2 separate regions of the Homo sapiens genome follow, and region 2 is linked to region 1. Evidence: promoter capture Hi-C in 16 types of primary human blood cells and fetal thymus (Javierre and others, 2016). All regions are on one chromosome and are shown on one strand. Each heading gives the region's core, a stretch centred on a gene start or on the middle of the fragment in contact. The rest is flanking DNA. Distances are from core to core; before and after follow the strand shown. Region 1 holds the start of SPO11 (SPO11 initiator of meiotic double strand breaks). Region 2 holds the start of LINC01716 (long intergenic non-protein coding RNA 1716).

Region 1 (5,563 bases), core at 2,181-4,680:
CTTACATTTGCTAGATAAGCCACCTTGTTTAAATGTAAGAAGTATGCTATCCTCTCCTGTCTGGTTTGTTGAAAGGGCCTCCCCATCCTTGCCTCCCTTCTTTCCCTTTTTTGGATGTGTTAGAGGTGGAACAGATCTTTGCACCTAATTTAAACAATACTCCTTTCCAGCCTGCACAAAGATTTTGGCCCTCTACTGTGTTTCTGGGACTGAGTATGAGTTTGGAGGAAACACCGGCTAGTAGGGTTTGCGGGGAAGCTTCCTGGCCCATAGGGAGAACTCAGTATTGAGACTGTCCTGCAAGTTGGCATTTGTCAGTTTCATTTGCAATGTGTTGCTAGGAGCAGAATATGTTTTTCTGGTTCTTGCTCACAGCCTGGGGCTGGGACTGTTGACTTTGATGTGAAGGTGGTGCACACAGCTGCTGGGGGAGGGCCTATGAGTCCTGCCGTGGAGCAGGATACCTGCAGGGCACAGGCAGAGCCTAGCTGCTGGAGGGTGAGCTGCCCCTCCTGCTTTTGTCAGCGCAGTGGGAACCCCAGCCAAGTCCTTTCAAGTCGCACCTTGCACTTTGCGGTTTCTCCTCTTAGGAATGCCAGGTTTATTACGGGTTTGCTCACTTCACTTCACTGTTCTGATCCTCTCCTTGTGCCCCCACCCAGCTCAGGACCTTTCATTCTGTGTCAGGTCTAGCAAGGCTGCTGGCTTCTGGTTGAGTCTAATGCTAAGTGATACCAAAGGCTCTGTCCTCAGGGGACAGGGAAAAGTGGACAGAAATGTTTCTAGTCCCAGGGGAGAGGCACCTTCCAGCAGACAAGCCTTGACAGTGTCATTGACCTCCTGGCCTGCAAGATCCTTTCATTTGTTTGTTCCTCTTTGGGGATGACGCATGAGAACCCACCTGCCGCACACCCTCATTTGAAAGATGAGAAAACTAAGACCACCACCAAAGCCCCCAGAGAACGATGACACACTCCAAGCCAGACCCCCACAGATGCCTCATATCCAAGTGGTTAAGAGCATGAATTTGGAGTCAAGGTTTAACTCTCAGCTCTGTCACTTACTGGAGGTCCAATCTTACACAAAAGGGTTAATTTCTCCAAACCTCAGTTTCTTCATATGTGAATTGGGTGTACTATTTTTCACCTCTTAAAGTCACTGATTTATTTTCAGTGCATTTCTTACCCTGCCAACTTAATTATGTAAGAGTTCATCTGGCCAGGTGCAGTGGCTCACGCCCATAATCCCAGCACTTTGGGAGGGTGAGGAGGATGGATCACCTGAGGTCAGGAGTTCGAGACCAGCCTGGCCAACATGGTGAAACCCCATCTCTACTAAAAAATACAAAAACCTAGCCGGGTGCGATGGCACTTGCCTGTAATCCCAGCTACTCAGGAGGCTGAGGCAGGAGAATTACTTGAACCCAGGAGGCGGAGATTGCAGTGAGCCGAGATTGTGCCACTGCACTCCAGCCTGGGAAACAAGAGCGAAACTCCATCTCAAAAAAAAAAAAAAAAGTTCACCTGATTGCCTTTAGTTCTCCCCTCCTTTTAGGCTCCGAGCTCCCTAAGAGGAAGGGGTTTACCTGCCTTGTTCACAGCTGTGTCCTCGGTAATAAACCTTGCCCGGTGCAAGGTAGGCAGTGAGGAAGTATTTGTGATAACAGCAATGTAAAGCCATCAACACAGTGCTTGGTACATGCAGAACAGCCATCAACACAGGCAACCATCCCTGTGAACAGAGGGAGTGCATTATTTATGATGGGAAACTAGTTTTAGTTGGAAAATTATCAAATTACCAGGAACGGAAAGAACAAAACAGTTCTCCCAAGTAGCTCTTCTGGGGCCAAGCCCCAGCACCCCACCCATGCAGGACCAGGCCCCCAAAGGCCTTGGAACCACCTTGTTCCAGGGTCTCGCTCCACTGTCCTCTCCTCCTTCCCAAAGTCAGGACTCCTTTCCTTGGGCTTCAGAATTCCTATCTTCTGCTCTAGAAGGCTTGGAGCAAGTGGGGGAAAGGCACCACTCACCAAGTCTGTCAGGGGATGACATGGTATAGAGGGAGAGGAGCTACATAAAATACAAGATGCCAGTTAAGTTTGAATTTCACATAAACAATGAAATAACATTCCTTTCTCTGCCATCGTGGTGTGTGCTTGACTCCACTTCTCGCCATGTCTTTCCCACAAGACTTTTGGGATTAAGCAATTCCTGGCCAAGAAACAAAAGCAAAATCGTCCCCAGTGGATTCGGATGAAAACTGATAATAAAATCAGGTACAACTCCAAAAGGAGACATTGAAGAAGAACCGAGCTGGGCCTATAAGGAATTGCACATGAGAGGGCACACATATTTATGCTGTCTGAAGGTCACAGTCATGTTACCACATCAAGCTGAAAATGTCACCGCTCTCTGGAGAGTTGTACATGTTTTATTGAGAATATATTTTTTCTCTCTGAATCTGTGATGAATGCGTTGGTTGGCTGGGTTCAGTAATAAATATGTGAGACCTTTCACTTAAAAAAAAAAAGAACTATTTTTTTTTTTTTGAGAAGGGATCGCCCTGTGTTGCCCAGCCTGGAGTACAGTGGCTATTCACAGGCACAATCCTAGCGCACAGCAGCCTTCAACTCCTGGAGCCTCTAAATCCATCCTCCTGCCTCAGCCTCCCTAGTAGCTGGGACTACGGGTGAGTACCACTGTGCAAGGCTACAAAATAACTTTTTAGTAAAAGTATATCCCAAACTTTATACGAGACGTAGTTACTCTAAAAAAAAAAAAGGATTTGCTGTTTATCTGAAATTCTAATTTAACTGGTTGTCCTGGATTTTCTTTGCCAAATTGGTCTGCCCTACGGAGTGCGAGGGCTGGGATTTTAACCCAGGCCTGCCTGCTCTGAGCTGACCTTTCCTGGCACCTGCAAAATTAGGATGACACGTTAGGAACTTCCTGGGGTTCTTAAGGGAATTAGAAGAGGGACCTGAGTGCAAAGGGCTTTGGAGGCATTCAACTGCTATGAAACGTTAGTAAGGACAGGGATTGCGTTCACCTCAATCACAGCTGAACCCATTGCCGAGAACTGTTATCCCACACAGCTGGATCTTCATCATTATGTGTTTTAATGAAAAATCGCTGATATTGCTGTCCCTAAATAGCCAACCCCCAAAATAATTAAATCACCTCAAGGGACTCTAGGTCCAATATCCGCAGCACGCCACACAAACATCTCTCAGCTCAGCCACGCAGGGCCGATGCCTGCGCGACCCACACTCAGGGAGGCGCCCGCCTCAGGGCCTCACAGGTGGGACCGCGCCTGAGAGCCCTGCGCTTGCGCACTCCACGCCGTGCTCTACGCATACGCCTGTCCAGCCCCGCCTCTGGGTGTGTGGCGTGGGCACGCCGGCCGCTCAGAAAGCGCGGGAAAGGCACGCAGCCACGCCCCAAGGGCGCAGCCTAGGACAGGGGCTTCTGGAGCTTCTGGCAGCCGTCTGCCCTCATGGCCTTTGCACCTATGGGGCCCGAGGCCTCGTTCTTCGACGTTTTGGACCGACACAGGGAGTCCCTGCTGGCTGCCCTGAGGAGAGGTGGCAGGGAGCCCCCAACTGGGGGAAGCCGCCTGGCCTCCAGGTACAGGAGCTGGTGCCGAGGCGCGACGCAGCCACTCTGTAGAAAAGTCGGGCGCTCTTCCTGGCCCCGGGCTGCCTCCTAGTGTTGAGGCTGAGGAGGCACCCCTTGGCGGGCCAGCCAGGAACCCCCAAAAAGATCCTTCCTGAGTACCCGTGACCTGCTTTGAACCCTTATTTTGAACTCAAAAAAGAAAGCCAGGTGGCAGCCCCCCTTCTGTGGCTTCTAGGATGTTCCCCTTCTAGAACGTTCCAGAGGCTCCCTGCAGCTGGGTTGGAAGGTTTCCTAAGATCCTTATAGGTTGGGGAGTTTGGGGTACAGTTAGCTTTGTATTTTTTAAACGTTTTTTGGGATAAAATTTTTGGTTAAACTTTAAGGGTTTTTTTTGGTTTTTATTTTTTGGTTTTTTTTTAGAAAGAAAATGAGTGTTGTATGTCTTCTCTCAGTAAGCGAATGGTTTTCTCAGAATTAACAAGGACATCAACACATTTTAAGTGGTTTATAATAAGACAACATGTTTAATTGTTTTGCAAGTGGAGAGAATGTACATATTTTAAATGATTTATTTAAAATCAATTACAGGAACCCTCCAGCTATCCATGTTAGAATTAACCACAGAAAACATGACTACGTTATTGACCATTTTCACTTAAAAATACTTTATTTTGTTTCCTCGACTTGCTTTCTTGGTTGAGCAAAGTTTTTCAGCCTTTTATTTTTAAGCCCAAACCAACCACCAAAAAATCTGAAAAACCTACAAACAAACCAATTTTTACAAAAGAATTTATTTTGAGGGAGAACTTGGGAGAGTGAGGGAAAAGGAGAGTGGCAAGTCCCTTGTTAATATCGCAGATGTAGACGAATCTGATTGTATCTTAAAGTTGGTTACAGTATTATCCTGCAACACTTTTTTTCTCCAAACTAGGAAAAATGAGTATTTGGGTCAGTTTTTACCTCCCAATATTAGAATAGATTAAATGTTTTAAAATTCATTTTCTGAAACACAAGTTTTCAGTAAAAATTCTGAAGTTCCTGTGGAAATTAAAACTCTCAACATTTTGCCCGTTTTCTAGAGTGCATTTGATTTCTCTTCCTAGACAATAAGCTCATGGTGTTTATAACAGAACAACATTTTTTGCAGCTGATGGCTTGTGAAATTAACAGTCAGCTGACAGAAAACTGGGCTTAGTCTTCGCATTTTGCTGTAGAGTGGCGTAATAGCTGCCAAGTCAACCGTTTGTTGCAGAACTCACAATTTATTCTTTCCAGGGTAGTGATTAAACGTTTTCCTTTTTGTATCGCTAAATTTCAAAAGAGCCGATTTTAAGGCATGAGATCAACTAGGGTAATGTGCGACCACAAAAGGTGTTTCTTTTGAAATTTTTGCATTGCATTTTTGGGAAAGAAATTCAAAGCCAATATTGTATCACTTTTTAATTAAAACATATATCAGTAGTATGTCAAGTCTAGTTTGTATTCAAGTTCAGCTAGATTACAGTAGGTTAATATGATAAAATTACAGTTGTAAATTTAGTCATTAATGTAAAAGGGAGACCTTCCATTGGTAATTGCTTGAGAAGTAAAATTACAAGCAAATGAAATTTATTTGTAAATACAGTTGTTTTAATGCAGTAGTAAAGGTTTAATGGGAGAGATAATTATTGACATGGATTACCTAGTCTTTTTTTTTGTCTTTTTTTAAAACCCCACCCCAATTACCTAGTCTTAAAAAAGAATAAAATAAAAAGTTACTTTAGTATTGATCTGGGAAAATCTTACATATTAAAAAGTCAAAATTTATGATTAAGATGGAATCATGCTCTGTTTATTGTTTCAGTTCTGAGGTTCTTGCATCTATAGAAAATATTATCCAAGACATAATCACAAGCTTGGCAAGAAATGAAGCACCTGCATTCACGATAGACAACAGATCAAGCTGG
Region 2 (5,714 bases), core at 353-2,852, 760 kb before region 1:
CTGAGGTTCAGGGGTTCAAGATCAGCTGGGCCAACATGGTGAAACCCCATCTCTAATAAAAATACAAAGATTAGCCTGATGTTGTGATGCGTGTCTGTAATGCCAGCTACTTGGGAGGCTGAGACATGAGAATTACTTGAACCTGGGAGGTGGAGGGTGCAGTGAGCTGAGATCATACCACTGCATTCCAGCCTGAGGGTGACACAGTGAGAATCTGTCAAAAAAAAAAAAAAAGGACGGAAAGAAAGAGCGAACGAGGCTGATGCCTCTGCACTGAGATGGTCTCCACGATGTATTTGAAAAGTGGAGAGAAAAGAGGGCAGAACCTTACGGAGGGAAAAAAAGACAATTAAAAGAACAGCTGGGCCAGATGCAGTGGCTCATGCCCATAATCTCAGCACTTTGGGAGGCCAAGGCAGGTAGACATCTTGAGCTCAGAAGTTCAAGACCAGCCTGGGCAACATAGTAAGACCCCCTCCCCCCAACCATCTCAACAAAAAATACAAAAAATAGCCAAGCATAGTGGCATGCCTGTAGTCCCAACTGCTTGGAAGGCTGAGACAGGAGGATTGCTTGAGCCTGATTGAGGCTTCAGTGAGCCATGATCGCGCCACTGCACTCCAGCCTGGGCAACAGAGCGAGACCTTGTTTCAAAAAAAAAAAAAAAAAAAAAAAGGAATTATTTCAATGGATCTTGCAGTATTGACTGGATAGAAGGCTGGAAGCCAATAAAGCAAAGAGAATACAAATAGACTGACTGTTCTAGAAATTCTATGGGTAAAGGAAGAAGGGATTAATTAGAAAGCATACATTTATTTATGTATTTATTTATTGAGATGGAGTCTCGCTCTGTCACCCAGGCTGGAGGGCAGTGGCGCAATCTCGGCTCACTGAAACTTTTGCCTCCTAAGTTCAAGTGATTCTCCTGCCCCAGCCTCCTGAGTAGCTGGAATTACAGGCACCCACCACCCTGCCTAGCTAATTTTTGTATTTTTAGTAGAGATGGGGTTTCACCATGTTGGCCAGGCTGGTCTCCGGACCTCAAGTGATCCGCCTCCCAAAGTGCTAGAATTACAGGTATGAGCCACCGCGCCCGGCCAGAAAGCATACATTTTTTATTTAGATTGTATGCTTATCTGGCGTGGCTTGATACGGGGGTGCTGATGGGGATTGGGAGGTAGAGAAATACCCTCCCAATAATAATAGCCAAACGCAACATAGCACTTGTGATATTTTCTGTGAATTTTATTAGTATGAACTCATTTCAACCTCCTAACAACCCTGTGGGGCAGGTCCTTTTCATACCCCCATTTGTGAGGACACAGTGGCCTTTCTAATATCACACACCAGCAAGTGTCAAAGCTTCAAACCCAGGCAGCCTGGTCACAGAGAGTCACATAACTGCTCTGCAAACCTGCCTCCCTCTGCTTCAGAGGGGCTCAGATTCGGGGTTTACCTCTCACTAGCTGGGCAAGCTTAGGCACTGGCCTTCTCAGAGCCTTGGTTTTCTCGCCGCAGAATGAGGGTAACTGCAGAGTTGTTGAGAAGCATTTGAAGCACCTGATTCTTGGTGCTCAATACAGGGAACGTGTGATAGTTACTGCCGACTTAGAGCAGAGCTTAGGCAGGCACTGCACCAGGATTTGACTATTGATGCATCTCCAAGCTGAGCCTCGGTAGGCCTGTGGTCCCATGCTAGAGAGCAGCTGCCAGTGCCTCCATCTGCTGCAAAGCTTGGCTGTGTGTGGATGGGTGGGACAAGTCACTCCAGAAGCTTCTCCCCTTAAGACATCCTGACATTAAGGGATCTTCTTCCTTTGCTCCTCTTTCTGTCCTCCCTGCCCCCCTTCCTCCCTCCCTTTCTTCCTTAAATGCCCAAAGTCAGTTGATACCTTTTCTTAAGTAACTCAATAAGCAATACAGGCAGTTTGCTCATGGTTGGCAGTGGGCAGGATTAAGGGAGGATTAGGGCCCTTTGTCAATGTCTCATCTCCTGTCTGCAGAGACAAGACCTGAAGGATTGCTAAAGAATGCCCTTGGTAACAACTGTTTCTCCAGGACCTTGTTTGGCTTCCCCCTGGCTGGGTGGAACCCGCTGTGTGCAGCCTTCGCAGGGAGGTGGGCCGAAGGCTGCCAACGTTGGAGCAGGTGAGCTATGGCATTTGCATTGGGCTGGGTCTCCATTCTTGGGCCAAATCAACTCACCTCTTGGGCGAGTTGCTTCAGACTTCAGAAACAAGCCACATCATGCCGAGAGGCTTTCCCCCCAGTTCCAGGGCCCAAGGGTGCAGGCACATAGCCAGCCCAGCCTTCTCTTCCCTGTGTGTTCCCTTCTCCCCTGGGTTTCTCCTCCCTTGTGAAGAAACAGCACACCTGCTTTTACACAAGGCCAGTCCTCCACGGGCGCCCTCATCCCACCCCTTTTGACCTTCTCAAGGACTACAAGTCTCTAATGATCCTCTCCCTCTCCTGACTCATCCATCTCTCCCTCTCCCTTGTGACTCAGCAGTGTACAGACCTGCTTCTAGATTAAAACAAAAACAGAAACCCCTCCGACCACCCCCTCCACCTTTTTTCCTGCTTTTCCTCAGAGACAAACTTCTCAGCACCCCCTGCCTCCTTTCCTCAATTCCCGTCCATTCTCCAGCCCACTTCCAGCTGGCTTTGGCACCCACTGTCCCTCCTCTCAGATTCACTCTTGTCAAGGTCACCAGGAATACCCGGTGCACAGTACAACAGGCACTTCCATGTCCTCGCGGGATGGGTCTTCCCAGCTGCACTTGACGCAGCTGACCCAGGGTGCTCCCCTGCTTCCCCTCCTGGGGCACGCTCATGGCTTTCCCGCCTCCTCCCTCTGACCCTCCTGCCTCCTCCCTCTGATCCTCCTGCCTCCTTCCTCGGACCCAGGGCGCTCTCCTCCCTCCTCTCCTGGAACACGCTCATGGCTTTCCCACCTCCTCCCTGGCCATCTCTTCTCAGTCTTCATTTCCAACTTTTCCTCTTTCTGTTCTCTGAATGTTGGCTTTCTGCATGGCTAAGCCCTGGGTCCCCCTCTAGCTAGACTCTCATGGGATGGTCTCATCCATGGCCAAGGTTTTTAACATAATCTAGAAGCTGAGACTCCCATATTGCATCTCTGGTCTTGCTGTCAACTCACATGTCCGTGGCCTGCTGGATACCCCTGTTCTGTCTCTTGGGCATTCCACACTTAGTGTTTCCTAAATCAGACTGTCCAGGGCCTTCCACATTGGTTTGCTCCCAGTCTCCCTTGGAGCCGGCACTGGTGCCACCCTTCCACCTGGTGCCTGGCTGCCAAGCTTGATTCCCTCCTCCTCCTCCCTAAACCCTCCCCTCCTCAGACCTCACTTTTTCCATCCTCACATTGCCACCCTAGGCCAGGCCACCATCAGCTCCTGCCTGGACACTGTGACAGCCTCCTAAGTGATCGACAGCCCCCATTTTTCACGCTGCTGCCATTGAGATCTTTCTAGAATAAAAATCAAATCAAGCCAGTCCCTTGCTTAAAACCATTTCACGCTCCCTATTGCTCTTCAGGTGAAGCTAACCTCCTTAACTTGGTTTACACAGCCCTTCCCAGCCAGCCCCTCCCTGCCTCTCCCACCTCCAGTGCCACCCCCAGACCTCAAGTGATCCACCCACCTCAGCCTCTCAAAGTGCTGGGTGGTGGCTCACACCTGGCGTCGTCCTCTTCCTCCCTTCCTCTTCCCCTGCCCCTTCCCCTTGCCCTCCTCCTCCTCCTACTCCTCCTTCTTCCTCCTCCTTCTTCTATGAGTGGTCAGTTATTCCAATGATAGATTACAGAATTGGCTTCTGCCTTTCAAAAATTAAATCATAACCCATCTCCTGAAGTTTGAACACAGCCTTGCCTAATTTTGTTTCATTTATGTTATTGTTATCACTACAGTTATTTGGGGTGGCCTGAGGACACGGCTGGAGCTGGAGTGTGGCTGTGACCTCCTCTTGACATCTTTCTGCACCACTATTAATGGTATCCCAAGTGCTGGGCACAGAGGAGGAGATAGATCAATATTTGATGAATAAATGGCTGGGCGTGGTGGCTCACGCCTGTAATCCCAGAACTTTGGGAGGCCTAGGCAGGTGAATCACCTGAGGTCAGGAGTTCAAGACCAGCCTGGCCAACATAGTGAAACCCCATCTCTACTAAAAATGCAAAAATTAGGCCAGGCGGGGTGGCTCACGCCTGTAATCCCAACACTTTAGGAGGCTGAGGTGGGCAGATCACCTGAGGTCAGGAGTTCGAGACCAGCCTGACTAACATGGAGAAATCCCATCTCCACTAAAAATACAAAATTAGCCAGGCGTAGTGGCACATGCCTGTAGTCCCAGCTACTCAGGAGGCTGAGGCAGGAAAATCGCTTGAACCTGGGAGGCGGAGGTTGCAGTAAGCCGAGATTGCGCCATTGCACTCCAGCCTGGGCAACAAGAGCAAAACTCCGTCTCAAAAAAAAAAAAAAAATTAGCTGGGCATGGTGGGGCATGCCTGTAGTCCCAGCTACTTGGGAGGCTGAGGCAGGAGAATTGCTTGGACCCAGGAGACGGAGGTTGCAGTGAGCCAAGATCACGCCATTGCACTCCAGCCTGGGCGACAAGAGCAAAACTCAGTCTCAAAAAAAAAAAAAAAGACTTTGATGAATAAATGAATGAACGAATGAAATCACTCTCAAACCAGAGCTTCAAGTTTCATGTTATTGGCCTGGAGCGGTTAATTTTATCAGCATACACAAGACTCTCAGTCTCCAAATCATGGAACTATAGGATGGCAGGATGGGAGAATCCCTGGACCACCCAGGGCCCAACCTCCAAATTTATCAGTTGAGCCAGCTGAGCCATTGCTCACCCACAGTTGTCCCGGAGCAGGCAGGCTGCCTGCAGGATGGAAGAACGTGGAGGAGGAAGGGTGTGCAGGGGCCAGGTCTTACCTGGATTTGTTGATTTTATTCTCAATATGATGAGAAGTCCCGAGAGACTTTAACATAATCCCTGATCTTATTTTATTTTATTTTATTTTATTTTAAAGATCATTGCAATCCCTGCAAAACCAGATTCAGGACTGGAGAGAGAAAATAAGGTATGGGCTGGGGAGTCAACACACATTTGTGCCTCTTTGATGGCAAGGCCTAGGAACACATGCCTGGGGTCAGCTTGCCATCATGTGGCCAAACCTAAGGACTGCACATCTCCCATCTTGCTTTCCCAGGGCTCCGTGTACTTGTGGAGACAGGATTTGGACCCAGGTCTCTCCTCCCACCAAAGTTCAGGGTCTATAGGCCTGAGTTCAAGTCCCGGTTCCTGCACTCCCAGCCATATGACCAAAGAGGATTCAGGTTCTGTATCCGACTCATGGGGACAGCAACACACTCATCTCTCACAGTGAAGACCCAGTAAGAAATGGCAGCTGTCAGCCAGGTGCAGTGGCTCACGCCTGTAATCCCAGCACTTTGGGAGGCCGAGGCAGGCGGATCACGAGGTCAGGAGATCGAGACCATCCTGGCTAACACGGTGAAACCCCGTCTCTACTAAAAATACAAAAAATTAGCCAGGCATGGTGGCGGGCACCTGTAATCCTAGCTACTTGGGAGGCTGAGGCAGGAAAATGGCATGAACCCAGGAGGTGGAGGTTGTAGTGAGCTGAGATCGCACCACTGCACTCCAGCCTGGCGACAGAGTGAGAC

The links. The method cuts DNA at HindIII sites, captures the fragments that hold promoters and counts their contacts. A CHiCAGO score of 5 or more calls a contact.
Region 2: a fragment that was not itself captured here is called in contact with the fragment with the promoter of SPO11 in region 1 in 1 of 17 cell types (endothelial precursors); the score reaches 5.2 in endothelial precursors.

What each region holds. Positions count from the first base shown.
Region 1 is chr20:57,326,373-57,331,935 of GRCh38, forward strand. SPO11 (SPO11 initiator of meiotic double strand breaks) reads left to right here and starts at 3,431. Exons shown (of 13, transcript NM_012444.3): 1 at 3,431-3,626; 2 at 5,461-5,563. The coding sequence starts at 3,496. LOC105372687 (a long non-coding RNA gene) reads right to left here and starts at 3,292. Exons shown (of 12, transcript XR_007067670.1): 1 at 3,049-3,292; 2 at 1,586-1,731. It also overlaps the pseudogene RPL39P39. RefSeq lists enhancers at 1-466, 467-969. The HindIII fragment of the contact is 5,253 bases long and covers 257-5,509 here.
Region 2 is chr20:56,572,503-56,578,216 of GRCh38, forward strand. LINC01716 (long intergenic non-protein coding RNA 1716) reads left to right here and starts at 5,061. Exons shown (of 6, transcript NR_136537.1): 1 at 5,061-5,110; 2 at 5,240-5,448. The HindIII fragment of the contact is 258 bases long and covers 1,474-1,731 here.